Linked DNA regions of Homo sapiens: region 2 is linked to region 1. Evidence: promoter capture Hi-C in human tissues and cell types (Jung and others, 2019). All regions are on one chromosome and are shown on one strand. Each heading gives the region's core, a stretch centred on a gene start or on the middle of the fragment in contact. The rest is flanking DNA. Distances are from core to core; before and after follow the strand shown. Region 1 holds the start of EEF1A2 (eukaryotic translation elongation factor 1 alpha 2). Region 2 holds the start of TCFL5 (transcription factor like 5).

What was found. The method cuts DNA at HindIII sites, captures the fragments that hold promoters and counts their contacts. A contact is called where the count stands out against the background at its distance.
Region 2: the fragment with the promoter of TCFL5 here is called in contact with the fragment with the promoter of EEF1A2 in region 1 in 1 of the 25 tissues and cell types used here (heart right ventricle).

Annotation. Positions count from the first base shown.
Region 1 is chr20:63,494,933-63,501,356 of GRCh38, reverse strand. It overlaps EEF1A2 (eukaryotic translation elongation factor 1 alpha 2), which reads left to right and starts at 2,274. Exons shown (of 8, transcript NM_001958.5): 1 at 2,274-2,299; 2 at 3,523-3,737; 3 at 5,322-5,501; 4 at 6,256-6,424. The coding sequence starts at 3,594. It overlaps LOC124904955 (a long non-coding RNA gene), which reads right to left and starts at 3,075. Exons shown (of 2, transcript XR_007067719.1): 1 at 2,734-3,075; 2 at 1-32. RefSeq lists enhancers at 1,640-2,209, 2,470-3,265, 3,891-4,060, 4,858-5,653, 6,327-6,424 and a silencer at 5,054-5,263. The HindIII fragment of the contact is 29,943 bases long and covers 1-6,424 here.
Region 2 is chr20:62,857,994-62,864,417 of GRCh38, reverse strand. TCFL5 (transcription factor like 5) reads left to right here and starts at 2,596. Exons shown (of 6, transcript NM_006602.4): 1 at 2,596-3,394; 2 at 4,110-4,293; 3 at 4,892-5,054. The coding sequence starts at 2,748. LOC105372717 (a long non-coding RNA gene) reads right to left here and starts at 2,983. Exons shown (of 4, transcript XR_936989.4): 1 at 2,877-2,983. RefSeq lists silencers at 2,188-2,287, 2,338-2,527, 3,028-3,177 and an enhancer at 2,149-2,803. The HindIII fragment of the contact is 8,054 bases long and covers 1-5,192 here.

The sequences.
Region 1 (6,424 bases), core at 1,025-3,524:
GAAGAGCAAGAGAGAACCCACTGCCATGAGTCCTGTTTATAGGGCACAAATCCATTCGGAAGGGCAAACCCTTTATGACCCAGACTCCTTCCCGAAAGCGCCAGCCCCCAACACTGTTGCATTGGGGATTAAGTTACAACTCGTGCACTTTGGGGACGTGGTCAGGCCACTGCCGTTATTCAGCAGTTAGCATTCCGTAGTTAGTAGCCATTCAGTCCTGTTCAGTCTCCGCGGTGGCTCGGAACCATCAGTGTGTTAGTGTTTAGCCTTGTGACCGCAGCCCCGTTAGCTGTGTGTTCCAAGTGTCTGCGGAACTGAGTCGGTGGCTCCCAGGACCCCGAGGGGCCACACCGTGGACCAAACGTGTCCTGGCGCCTGGGAGACCCTTTGGAGCAGCCACCGACACCCTTGCCCAGAGTCAGCACACAGGTGCTTTGGGGAGGTTGCCACATTCCACTCTCAGGGGCCACTCCTGTGGGTGGCAAGGCCCCACGGCACATGTGAGCCCCTGGCACTGCTATGGGTGAGCCGGGAGCCGAGGGGGAAGGGGTGTCTGGAAAAGGTAGCCCAGAGTCCTGGTGATCCCTTGGGGGAGTGGGGTGGGCATCCCCGGGACCCCGGCCTGGGCCACTCGAGCACCTGCAGCAAGCCCACTTCCAAATCCCTGCCTAACCTTCAGGCTGCAGGGGAGGCGTTAAATATAGAGACCAGCTGGGTGGGGTGGGGCGGGCCTTGCTTTCTTGCCAGGCGGTTATTTTTATTCCTGGCTCCTGTTTGACGGCATCGGCAGCACTCGGAAGTGCCGGGGCACCTAGCAGGCCCTCCCTGCCTCCTCTCCTGCCTGTGGCCCAGGAGCCCAAGTCCCTGGACTCCTATGGGGCAGACGCAGCCACAGACCAGGGTCCTCCTGAGAGGCCCTCTCCACAGGCTGGGGAGAACTGTTTGGCCCCGACCCTGGGCCCCCACCTTTCCTTCCTCCTCACACCTGCCAGCAGGCCAGGTAGGGGTCCAGTCGCTGGGGATCCCCATGGATTTGCCCAGTCGCAGCTGCTGGGCCCGACCCGGGGCCTCCATGTCAACACCCAGTGGGAACTCAGGGCTGAGAGGACAGGTGCCAGGGCTCTGCCCCCACTCAGCACACACCTCCCGAGACCCCGCTGGCAGGAAGATCCGAGTGCGTGGGGGTGGGGGGGCAGCGTGGGAGGGAAGACCTGAATACCTGGGTGAGACGACAGGATCTTGGGGTCTGGAGAAAGCCCCTAACCTTGGTCTTCACACAACACATGGCTGCCACATCCCCTTCCTCACAACCCACGTTGGTCATTACCCGCGTGTGCCAGGACCTCAGGGACTCCCCACTTCCTACAGAGCGTGGCCCGGTCTTTGGCTTGGCATCCTGACCCCATATGAGCATCAGCTACAAGGCGCTGAGGTGCAGCGGGGTGGGGCGCTGGGCGGGGGGGCCTGGGTCTGTCTGGATCTGACTCGCCCTTGGCTGGCGCTGTTTCCCAGCAGCAGCCGGAGGTCGGCGCACCCGGAGGGGAGGGTCCCTGGAAGATGTCAGTGGGTCTGGGAGCGGGCTTCCGGCGTTCCCTGCACCGTGGGAGACCAGCCTCTCAGGGGGAGGGTGGTTCTGCGCTGGATCCTCGGGGCCTGTCATGGTGCGCCCAGGAGGGCAGGCACGTGAGGACAGGGACTGGAAACCAGCAGATTTCCACCCTGAGGCCTGCACCCCCGGGCCTCATTAGGGAGAGCCCCTCAGAGCCGGGCTTCGTTGGTTCTGGGGCGTCCCCCATGAGCAGGGCCGGGGAGGGGCCGGTAGACCCAGGCTCGTCTCCCAGGCTGCAGCCCACCTGCTCCCCTCCCCCGCCTGCCGGCTCCGGTCCTCGGCGTCTGCCCTGTCCCCGGGGACCGCTTTTCGCGGCTCAAGCGTGTTCCTGCCCTGAGCCGGCTCTCGCCCCGTCTCCCGGGCCCGCCGCGCTCTCCCCGCGCCGTCTCCGTCCCGGTCCCTCCCTCCCGCCGCCTCCCTGCCCTGCCCCCCGCCCCGCCCCCGCCCGCGGCGCGTTTCTCCCCCGCCTCCCGCGTCCGTCTTTGCAGCCCGCGCCTCCCGCATCGCCTCGCGTCCCCGTGGCGCCCGCCCGCGCGCGTCCGCGCCCCGCCCCCTCCCGCGCGGTTCCGCATTGGCGTGCTGCAGGGCGCGGTGCACTGCGCCGCCACCGTCAATAGGTGGACCCCCTCCCGGAGATAAAACCGCCGGCGCCGGCGCCGCCAGTCCCTCTGGCTGAGACCTCGGCTCCGGGTAAGGACGCTCGGCCCCCGGGCCTCCGCCCCCGCCCCCGTCTTCCGAAGAGGGACCCCCGGGGCCGGTCCTGGGGGGCAGAGGGTGGCCGGGCCCCGCACCCGCCCCCGCGCGCGCCCGGAGTCCGGCTTCCGGGGGTCCCCGCGTCGGCCGGGCTGGGCCCGGGGTGGGGGGCGGCGCGGGGCGGCGGGGCCGGGTCCTGGGCGGCGATCGCCCCGTAGCCGTGACCTTGGGGCCGCGGGGACCCTGCGGGCCGGGGGCTGATGGGGGTCGGGCTTCGGGGCGCTGGGCCAGAGGACGCTGAGGGAGGTGGTGAGATCTGGGGGCCCTGGCCTCCCCACCCCCACCCGTGTTCCCACCCCAGGGTGGCTTCTGTCCTCTTTCCCTCCCCCAGCCACCTGTCCGCGAGGAGCAGCGTGGGTTTCTCCACTGACCTCTGTGATGGGACAGGGCTGTGACCCAGGGTCCTGAGTCACAGGGAGGGGGGGAGGGAGGGTGCCCCCTATACCCCCACGGGGCCGAGGGCATCTCCACCTGGCACTTGCTGGGCTCGGCAGGGCCGGGTCCTCCTTCCTCAGGCTGGAACAGGGACCCCCACCTCCCGGCCGCTGTCTGTCCCTGTGAGAGTCCGGGAGGGGGGTGCCTAGAGCTATTCTGGGTTCCTAATCTGGGCAGCGCATCTCCGTCGGGGCTCTGGCCCAGCCTGCCGGGCAGGGATGAGGGGAAGATGGCGCCGTCCCTGCCTGAGGAGGGGAGTGGGGAGCAGTGGCCATCTCTCCCCGGTGGCAGCGGGTGGGGGTGGGGCGCCGTGTCCCTGGCCCTGCCGCCGGGGAGGGGAGTGCGCGTGCAGGACAGGGCCCTGGAGCGCTGGGCAGGTGACTCATCACCCGGCTCTGCTGGTCACGGACGTACCCAGCCTGGCGCTGCGTGGTCTCTCCAAATGGTGGCTAACCCCTTCCCAAGGAGCAGCCCGCGGGCTCCAACGCCCAGTTATTTACAGCAGATGGGGCTGTTTGGGCTCAAGTGTGGGGTGGGGGCAGTGCACAGCCTCTGCTTGCCCTGGCCAGGCCCAGCTGTGGGTGGGGGCCCTTCCCTCCCCACCAAACATGGGGGCTTGGTTTGTGGGCAGGGATGCCTGTCCAGCCTGTGCCAGGACAGTCTCTGCTGGTGTCTCCCCCTGGGGCTCCCCATCACCGGTCTCCCCACCACCACTGGCCCCACAGAATCACTGCAGCCCCCCTCGCCCTGAGCCAGAGCACCCCGGGTCCCGCCAGCCCCTCACACTCCCAGCAAAATGGGCAAGGAGAAGACCCACATCAACATCGTGGTCATCGGCCACGTGGACTCCGGAAAGTCCACCACCACGGGCCACCTCATCTACAAATGCGGAGGTATTGACAAAAGGACCATTGAGAAGTTCGAGAAGGAGGCGGCTGAGGTGAGCTCCCCAGGCTATGGTCTTGGCCCCCTGAGAAGGAACCCCCAACTCCCGTGGTGGCCAGGCTTGGCATCTCCCAGCCCCAGGGCATGGGGCTCAGGTGACCTCCTCCAGGGCAGGAGGGACCCCCGCTGTGGGGCACTCAGGCCTCAGAGGGTCTGGTGGGGCAGCCTCTCTCTTAGGGGGAGCTTGGTGGGGGAGGGGTGGCCATCGAGCTGCCGGACTTGCCCTGTGGTGAGGGAGGTGACCTGGGAGGGTCTGCAGAAGGCTCTGGAACTCTGCCATGTTGAGCTGGGGCTGGAGGGCGCTGGAGCCTTACCCCCTTCCCCCCAGGGCCAAGGCTGGGGCTGGAGATGGTACTGCCCTCACTTGTCCTAGGGCCCTGCCAGGGCACACGCTACTATTAATAGCTGATTGATGGGCAGCCGGCCCGTCTGCTCCATTTTCTTGTGCTGGGCTGTGGAGGGCTGCTGTCCAGGGCAGCCCTGGGGTGGGGGTCCTGGATGAGGTGACCTCCTAGCTGACCTTTTGAAGCGATTTCTCTTTGGTGGCTGAGACGGTGGTGGGGAGCGGTCATGAGACGGGGTCTGCTCTCTGATCCCCATCCCCCACCCAGGACTCTGGGGAGAAGCCCACTCCTGGGAGGGCCTGTGGGAGCTCTCACCTGGATGATGAGGGCGGAGGCCAGGGCCCAAGGTGGGGGCACTCGCTGTCCTGGGCTGAGCCTCTGCCCTGGCGGGGTTGGGGGTGCTCTGAGCTGCACCCCTGAGTTTGGGCTGCATCACCCTTTACCTGGCCTTGTCAGGAGGAGGCGGGGGTTTCAGAGGGCCGCTGTTTCAGGCCCCAGCTGGGTCCCATCTGGGTCTGCTCCAGACTGGGCAGCCTCCTGGAGGGCAGAGTCCTGTCTGTGCGAGGCCCTGGCGAGGAGTTCTGCCCAGCTGGGTAGTGACCGCCGCTGCTGCCCTGACTGAAGCCCGTCCCCTTCTGTGGGGGTCTCACTGGCCGAGGCCCCCCAGCTTCCCGTGTCCGGCAGAGCGAGGAAGGGGAGGAGAAGCCTCAGAGGGATGGGGAGGCTGGAGCAGCGGGAAGGAGCTGCGTGGCCAGGCCCTCCTCCTGACCTCATTCAGTTTTCCTTTCTCCTTACCTTAAAAAAACACACACACACAGAGGGTTATTTATCTGACAGCCCCAAACACGGTGGTATTATTGGCCTCTGGTTGAGGAAGGGATCTGGGGGCGTCCGCAGCTTCAGATAAAGGGGAGCCCTCGCCCGGGAGGGGTTTATCCCATCTGGCGGCTTCGCTCGTAGAGCGAGCGACTCCCAGGCCCTTGCGCCACCTGCTGGTGGACCTGCGTAGCCGCGCCCATTTCGGAGCAGGTGCGGAGGCCGGCCCTGGGGGGCAGGGTCTGGGTGTGGGGTCCCGACGGAGGGGGCCGGCGTCCCAGGACCCCGACGGAGAGCAAGGGGGTGCTGGAGCCCATCTCCCGCCTCTCGCGGCCACTCTGCTGTAACAAGCAGCTCGCACCACCAGGGACTCCTGGGTCCCGGGTCCCGCCCTCAGCCGTGACCCTCACCCGCTCCAGATGGGGAAGGGATCCTTCAAGTATGCCTGGGTGCTGGACAAGCTGAAGGCGGAGCGTGAGCGCGGCATCACCATCGACATCTCCCTCTGGAAGTTCGAGACCACCAAGTACTACATCACCATCATCGATGCCCCCGGCCACCGCGACTTCATCAAGAACATGATCACGGGTACATCCCAGGTGAGCAGGGCACAGCAGGCGGGGCTGGGGGAGAGGCCGCTGCACCCTTCAAGGGACACTGGGGGCCCCTGGGGTCACTGGGATGGTAGGGTCTCCTGTGCTTCCTGTGAGGGCAGGGGACCCCTCACCTGGGCCACCCTCACCCAGTCTGGCTCAGAGCCCCCCTAAGGATGAATCCAGTGCTCTGGCATCTGAACCAGTGCCTGTGAAGGCATCCAGCCAGTGTCAGAGTCCCCAGATAGATGGGGGCAGATGGGGACGTGGACACACCTTCATACATGGAGGGGTTGGAGGCCAGGATGGGGAGAGTGAGCAGTGGGCAGAGGTGCCACCCGCCAGGTGTAGACTGTATGACATTTCAGGGCACTCACAGAGACGCACGGACACCCCAGACACAGCACCCTGCAGACAGCAGGACACATGCCACCACCTCCAAACTGCTTTGATAACTGTGACTTCTATCCGTCCTCAAGTGAGGAACAGGAGCAGATAGGCTGAGTGACTTGTCCAGGGACACACAGCCCACTGGTGGTGGAGCCAGGGCTGAACCTCGGTCCCCTGACCCAGGGCCTGGCGATGAGCCCCCATGCTGCCCTTGAAGTGGGGACCCCCATGCCTCCCTCCCCAAGGCCCCAGTGGGCTGCTCAGGCCCCAGCCCGCTGCCTGGAGAGGCCTGGAAGTGAGGTGGGGCCAGGCTCGCTCTGTCCCCTGCCAGGCAGGCGGGGCAGGGCTCACTGTGTCCCCTGCCGGGCAGGCGGACTGCGCAGTGCTGATCGTGGCGGCGGGCGTGGGCGAGTTCGAGGCGGGCATCTCCAAGAATGGGCAGACGCGGGAGCATGCCCTGCTGGCCTACACGCTGGGTGTGAAGCAGCTCATCGTGGGCGTGAACAAAATGGACTCCACAGAGCCGGCCTACAGCGAGA
Region 2 (6,424 bases), core at 1,347-3,846, 640 kb after region 1:
AATGTCTGCAATCACTGCAATCTTTTCATTTATTTTTTTAGAAGGAGTCTCTCGCTCTGTCACTAGGCTGGAGGGCAGTGGCGTGATCTTGGCTCACTGCAACCTCCACCTCCCAGGTTCAAGCGGTTCTCGTGCCTCAGCCTCCTGAGTTACCTGGGATTACAGGCCTGTGCCACCACACCCAGCTATTTTTTTTTATTTTTAGTAGAGATGGGATTTCACCATGTTTACCAGGATGGACTCGATCTCCTGACCTTGTGATCCGCCCGCCTCAGCCTCCCAAAGTGCTGGGATTACAGGCGTGAGCCACCGCGCCTGGCCTGTAATCATTCTTATCTTTGTTCCTCTGTACACAATGTCTTGTGTGTGTGTGTGTGTGTGTGTACAGCTGCTTTTAAGATTTTTCACTGATTTAAAGCAATTTGAGGCCAGGCACGGTGGCTTATGCCTGTAATCCCAGCATTCGGGAGACCAAGGTGGGCAGATCACCTGAAGTCAGGAGTTCAAGACCAGCCTGACCAACATGGCAAAATCCCGTCTCTACTAAAAATACAAAAAATTGGCCAGGCATGGTGGCACATGCCTATAATCCCAGCTATTCAGGAGGCTGAGGCAGGAGAATCACTTGAATCCAGGAGGCAGAGGTTGTGCTGAGTCAAGATCGTGCCATTGCACTCCAGCCTGGGAGACAGAGCAAGACTCCATCTCAAAAAATAAAAAAATAAATAAATAAAGCAATTTGCTTTCCATCTTGGTGTAGTTTCCTTCATGTTTCTTGAGTTTGAGGTATGTTAAACTTCTTGGGTCTGTAGGTTTGTAGTTTTAAAAAAACTTTTCAATCATTATTTTTTTTTGTTGTTTTGTTTTTGTTTTTTGAGACAGCGTCTTGCTCTGTCTCCCAGGCTGGAGTGCAGTGGTGCAATCTCTACTCACTGAAACCTCCACCTCCCGGGTTCCAGCGATTCTTCTGCCTCAGCTTCCTGAGTAGCTGGGATTACAGGCACATGCCACCACACCTGGCTAATTTTTTATATTTTTAGTAGACACGAGATTTCATCATGTTGGCCAAGCTGATCTCGAACTCCTGACCTCAAGGGATCTGCCCGCCTCGGCCTCCCAAAGTGCTGGGATTACAGGCGTGAGCCACCTCACCTGGCAATCATTACTTCTTAAAATGTCTTTCTCCCCATCCTTCCACCCCCAGGGGACTTCAAATCACACTGCTTGAAGCGGCCCCACAGCTCACTGATGCTCTGCTCACTCTCTTAGCCTTCCCTCTCTGTTTTACGTTAGACGACTTCTGTTGCCATGTCCTTGAGAGTTTTAAGTCCTTGCTTTCCTCCTTGGTAGTGTTTTCTGAAACCTGATGTTTTGCCCAAAACTGATATATTATTTTCATGTATACATGTGTGAGTTTAGATTTGCATGGCTGAGCTTTCATAGCCCATCGTTGAATCATTGTAATATATTGGTCTGTGTCTAAACTGTGATGAAATGAGCGAAAGATTCAGACCCGGCTTAGAAGACGATGTGCAAGTCACAGGCCTTTAAGTGTCCTAATGCCTAGACAGAGAACAGACAACCACTGAGTGAGATGGGAATGTGGGTGAGAGGTTAAGTACAGGAATTATTTCAAGATTGCAAAAATAAGTCTCTTAAAGACCACATATTGCATAGTTCCCTTAACAGGGAAGGCCCAGCCTAGGCAAACTCCTGGACACAGAAGATTAGTGGCTGCAGGCGGGGGAGGGGCAGTGTGCTGACTGCTACAGGAGACCGGTGGTGAATGCAGCGGTGGAGGCGGGCCCAGCGCTGGGAATGTACCACCACCGTCGCGCTGTGCATTTTTTTTTTTTTTTTGAGATGAAGTCTGGCTCTGTTGCCCAGGCTGGAGTGCAGTGGCAAGATCTCGACTCACTGCAACCTCCGCCTCCCGGGTTCAAGCGATTCTCCTGCCTCAGCCTCCCGAGTAGCTGGGATTACAGGCACGCACTACCACGTCCAGCTAATTTTTGTATTTTTAGTAGAGACGGGGTTTCACCATGTTGGCCAGGCTGGTCTCGATCTCCTGACCTCCTGATCCACCTGCCTCGGCCTCCCAAAGTACTGGGATTACAGGCATGAGCCACAGAACCCGGCCATGCGCTGCGCATTTTACGCGGATGAAGCGGATGGCCTGGGCACTGTGGACTGTGGGTCCAGGGAGCTGTTTTGACAACGTCTTCATTCCTGCCGCTGTAATGGGGCGCACGTGCACGCACGGACGTGGCTTCTCCCCAGGGTGTCACCGCGTAGGTATCACGCTGATTCCAGCGCAGCCGCCCTCGCCGGGCCTCAGCGGGGAGTGGCCGGGCAGCAGGGGCGTGGCTGGGAACCGGGCGTGGCCTGAGCTGGGGGCGTGGCCTAGCTGTGGGGGCGTGGCTGGGCCGTGGGGGCGGGCCCTCCGCGCAAGCATCCGCCGACGTGGGGCGGGGCCGGGCGTGCGGGCGGTTGGGCGGGGGCGGGGCCGGCGGCGGCGGGTAACGGAGGGGGCGGGGCTGGCGCAGGGGTGGGGTTGCCGTTGCGGGGCGGGGCGGCGCAGGCGCTGTGCGCGGCACTCAGCGGTTTTCCCTCCCCCAACGGCGCGCCGGCTGTGGCCGGCGCAGAGTAGTGCTCGGGCCGGGGGTCGCCTCCCGCCTCCCGCCTCCCGCCTCCCGCCGCCCGCCGCCCGCGTCGCCCTCGCCGCCGTTGGGCCGCGCCGCGCCGCCATGTCGGGCCCCGGACCGCGGGAGCCGCCGCCGGAGGCAGGCGCGGCAGGCGGCGAGGCGGCCGTCGAGGGCGCGGGCGGCGGGGACGCGGCGCTGGGCGAGCCGGGGCTGAGCTTCACGACCACCGACCTGAGCCTGGTGGAGATGACGGAGGTGGAGTACACGCAGCTGCAGCACATCCTCTGCTCGCACATGGAGGCGGCGGCTGACGGCGAGCTCGAGACGCGCCTCAACTCGGCGCTGCTGGCGGCGGCGGGCCCGGGCGCAGGCGCGGGCGGCTTCGCGGCGGGCGGTCAGGGGGGCGCGGCGCCCGTGTACCCCGTGCTGTGCCCGTCCGCGCTGGCGGCCGACGCGCCCTGCCTGGGCCACATCGACTTCCAGGAGCTGCGCATGATGCTGCTAAGCGAGGCGGGCGCGGCGGAGAAGACGTCGGGCGGCGGGGACGGAGCGAGGGCCCGGGCCGACGGCGCCGCCAAGGAGGGCGCGGGCGCGGCTGCGGCTGCGGCTGGACCCGACGGCGCGCCCGAGGCCCGGGCCAAGCCGGCCGTGCGCGTCCGCCTGGAGGACCGCTTCAACAGCATCCCCGCCGAGCCGCCGCCCGCGCCGCGCGGCCCCGAGCCCCCCGAGCCGGGCGGGGCGCTCAACAAGTGCGTGCCCGGCGGCCGGGGGCTGGCGGGGCCCGGGTGGAGGCCGAGGCCGGGGCCGGGGCCGGGGCGGAGGCAAAGGGGGCCCTCGCTGTGCACGCCCCCAGCCTGCCCTCCCGGCGGCACAGGGCGCGGACCTCACCGGGTCTGGGGCCGCCCCGAAAGGCTGTGTGCGCTGTGCGGGCCCCGGGGAGCAGGTACTTCCAGAAACTAAACACCCCCTCCCTCAGTGGCCCCGCCTGGAGTGGGGCCGAGCGCGCAGAATTCCTGGGAACCATGTGCTCCGGGTGGCACTCTTGGATGTCAGGGAAGCCTAGGAAGGCCCGACGGGGGTTTGCAGGCTTTGAGCTCTAAAATGAGGCTCCAGCCTGCAGCCGCCCCCTTGGCGACCCTCAGGGATGGCTGTGGAAGGGGCTGCGTCCGCAGTTTTCTGCTCATCCCAGCCTGTAGTTGCCCATCGTGGTCACACTGGAGGATGGCAAAAGTGAGATTGGTGTCAGGATGTGATGAGAGCAGGGAGGTGGCGCAGTTTTGCTTTTCCTCCATAGGAAGAGGAGGACTTCCACAGCAGCGATAGTTGCTAATTGTTGTGTAGAGATTTCCAGGATGAGAGTTGGGTTGCTGTCTGGAAAAACTAGCCAGAGCCATGGGAGTGGGATGGTGGATGCTTGTCTGCCACGTATTGCTGACACTTCTGGGCTTTCTTTTGTCTTGGCAGTTTGGTAACTCTCATTCGACATCCATCTGAACTAATGAATGTTCCTCTTCAGCAACAAAACAAATGTACAGCATTAGTGAAAAATAAAACTGCGGCTACAACTACTGCTTTGCAATTTACATACCCACTGTTTACTACAAATGCTTGCTCTACTAGTGGAAATTCTAATCTTTCACAGACACAGGTAGGGAACATGATTTGTGAAGCTTTGCTCTTTTGTATTAAATGGGTAAATTTTAACTTATTTTGGTTAGGTCCCAAGTACTTTTTTTTCCCTTCAGTGAGCTTAATAACCTTTTAAGCCGGGCGCCAAGGCCGACACCTGTAATCCCAGCACTTTGGGAGGCCGAGGTGGGTGGGTCATTTGAGTTCAGGAGTTCAAGACTAGCCTGGCCAACATGGTGAAACCCCGTACGAAAATTAACCAGGTGGTAGTGGCGGACACCTGTAATCCCAGCTGCTCAGGAGGCTGAGGCGGGAGAATCGCTTGAGCCTGGGAGGTGGAGGTTGTGGTGGGCTGACATCGCGACCCTGCACTCCAGTCTGGGCGACAGAGTGAGAGCCTGTCTCAAAAAAAAAAACAAAAAAACAAAAACAAAAAAATACCTGTGAAAGTTGAGTGTTTATGTGGTATGCGAATATTTTTAAATCTTCAGTGCAACTAAAGTTCTTCAAATTACGTGTTAGTAGTTTTGATGTTTGTTAAGTGCATTTCATTTGTGCAGTAAAGAGGAGAGTAAGCCACATATTGATAAAATTCCTGTTGCTTCATTTTTTTCCAGAGTTCTAGTAACTCATGTTCTGTACTTGAAGCTGCCAAGCACCAGGATATTGGATTGCCTAGAGCATTTTCTTTCTGTTATCAGCAAGAAATTGAATCCACTAAACAGACGTTAGGTAGTAGAAACAAAGTTTTGCCTGAGCAAGTTTGGATTAAAGTGGGAGGTAAGCGATGAAGCAGCAGGTAGTGGGAGCTTTCTTCTGACTGAGCCCTGTGGCTGATGGCATTTTGGCCTTGGGGGGCAGGGGAGACAGATGGTTTGTACACATGTGAAACAGTCTTGGAGGTGTCTGTGTATCTCAGGGGTCTGTCCACCCGCTTCCCTGTCTTTTCGCTTTAAACATTATTCTGATTCTCAAACATAATTAATCTTGGTGTGAGAACGTTGCGTTTGAGGGCTTTTTCTTAACAGTAAAGTGATAGACTTACATAAATTTTCAGTTATTTTCAAGTTACTGAAAGTACTTTATAGTTTTTTATTTTCCTTATGTTATACTCGATGAGTGAGGCAGTCATCTAACATCTGCCGAAAGCCTTTGGATAGGTGGCTGCTAATAGGAGGACCCTATTAGGGCTGCCAGGGAGAGGCTGTAAGGTGATTCGGAAAGTTTGGAAATAAAGTCACTGCTGAAGGCACTGCTGCGCTAACCTGCATAGTCCCTTCCTCCCTGGGAAACACCTGCGTAGCCCCTTCCTCCCTGGGAAACACCTGCGTAGCCCCTTCCTCCCTGGGAAACACCTGCGTAGCCCCTTCCTCCCTGGGAAACACCTGCGTAGCCCCTTCCTCCCTGGGAAACACCTGCGTAGCCCCTTCCTCCCTGGGAAACACCTGCGTAGCCCCTTCCTCCCTGGGAAACACCTGCATAGCCCCTTCCTCCCTGGGAAACACCTGCGTAGCCCCTTCCTCCCTGGGAAACTGATTTGTGAAGTGACCCGAAAAAAGAACACTCCTTACACTTAGCTTTCCAAGAGTTGGTGAAGACAAGATGGGGAGGAAGAGCTACCGCCTTCTCCCATGTCAGTCCTTCCTTTTCCTCCCTATAAAATTTTATGCCAAAGTATATGTTCACATTTGTAAGATACAAAGATGAGTATTAAAGCAGCCTCTGTGCCGACTACTCAGGTTAAGGAATAAAATATCACCAAAACGACCGAATTCCTCTCTCTCCTGCTGAAAGCTTCATCATCCTTCTGAAATGGGTGCTTTGTGTGGCATACGCGTGCACATGAGCACGCCTGCCAGTCACGTGCCTGTGGTCCTTTGATGGATACAGTTCCACTGACGCACACGTGGCATAGCCTGTCACGCAGCAGAAAAGCTCGGACGCTACTTCTTCCTGCTTTGGGGAGGAGAGCCACTTCTGCGGCGAGGGCACACACACACGCTGCTGCAGTTTTGTTCTGAGCATTGCAGTAAAAATACTGTCATATTAGAATAATTGTTTTTTTTTCTTGTTCTTAGAATAATTGTATATAAAGAAAATATTTTTGGGAGGAAATATGTCCAGGTGGTTTGTTGTTGTTGTTTTTTTTT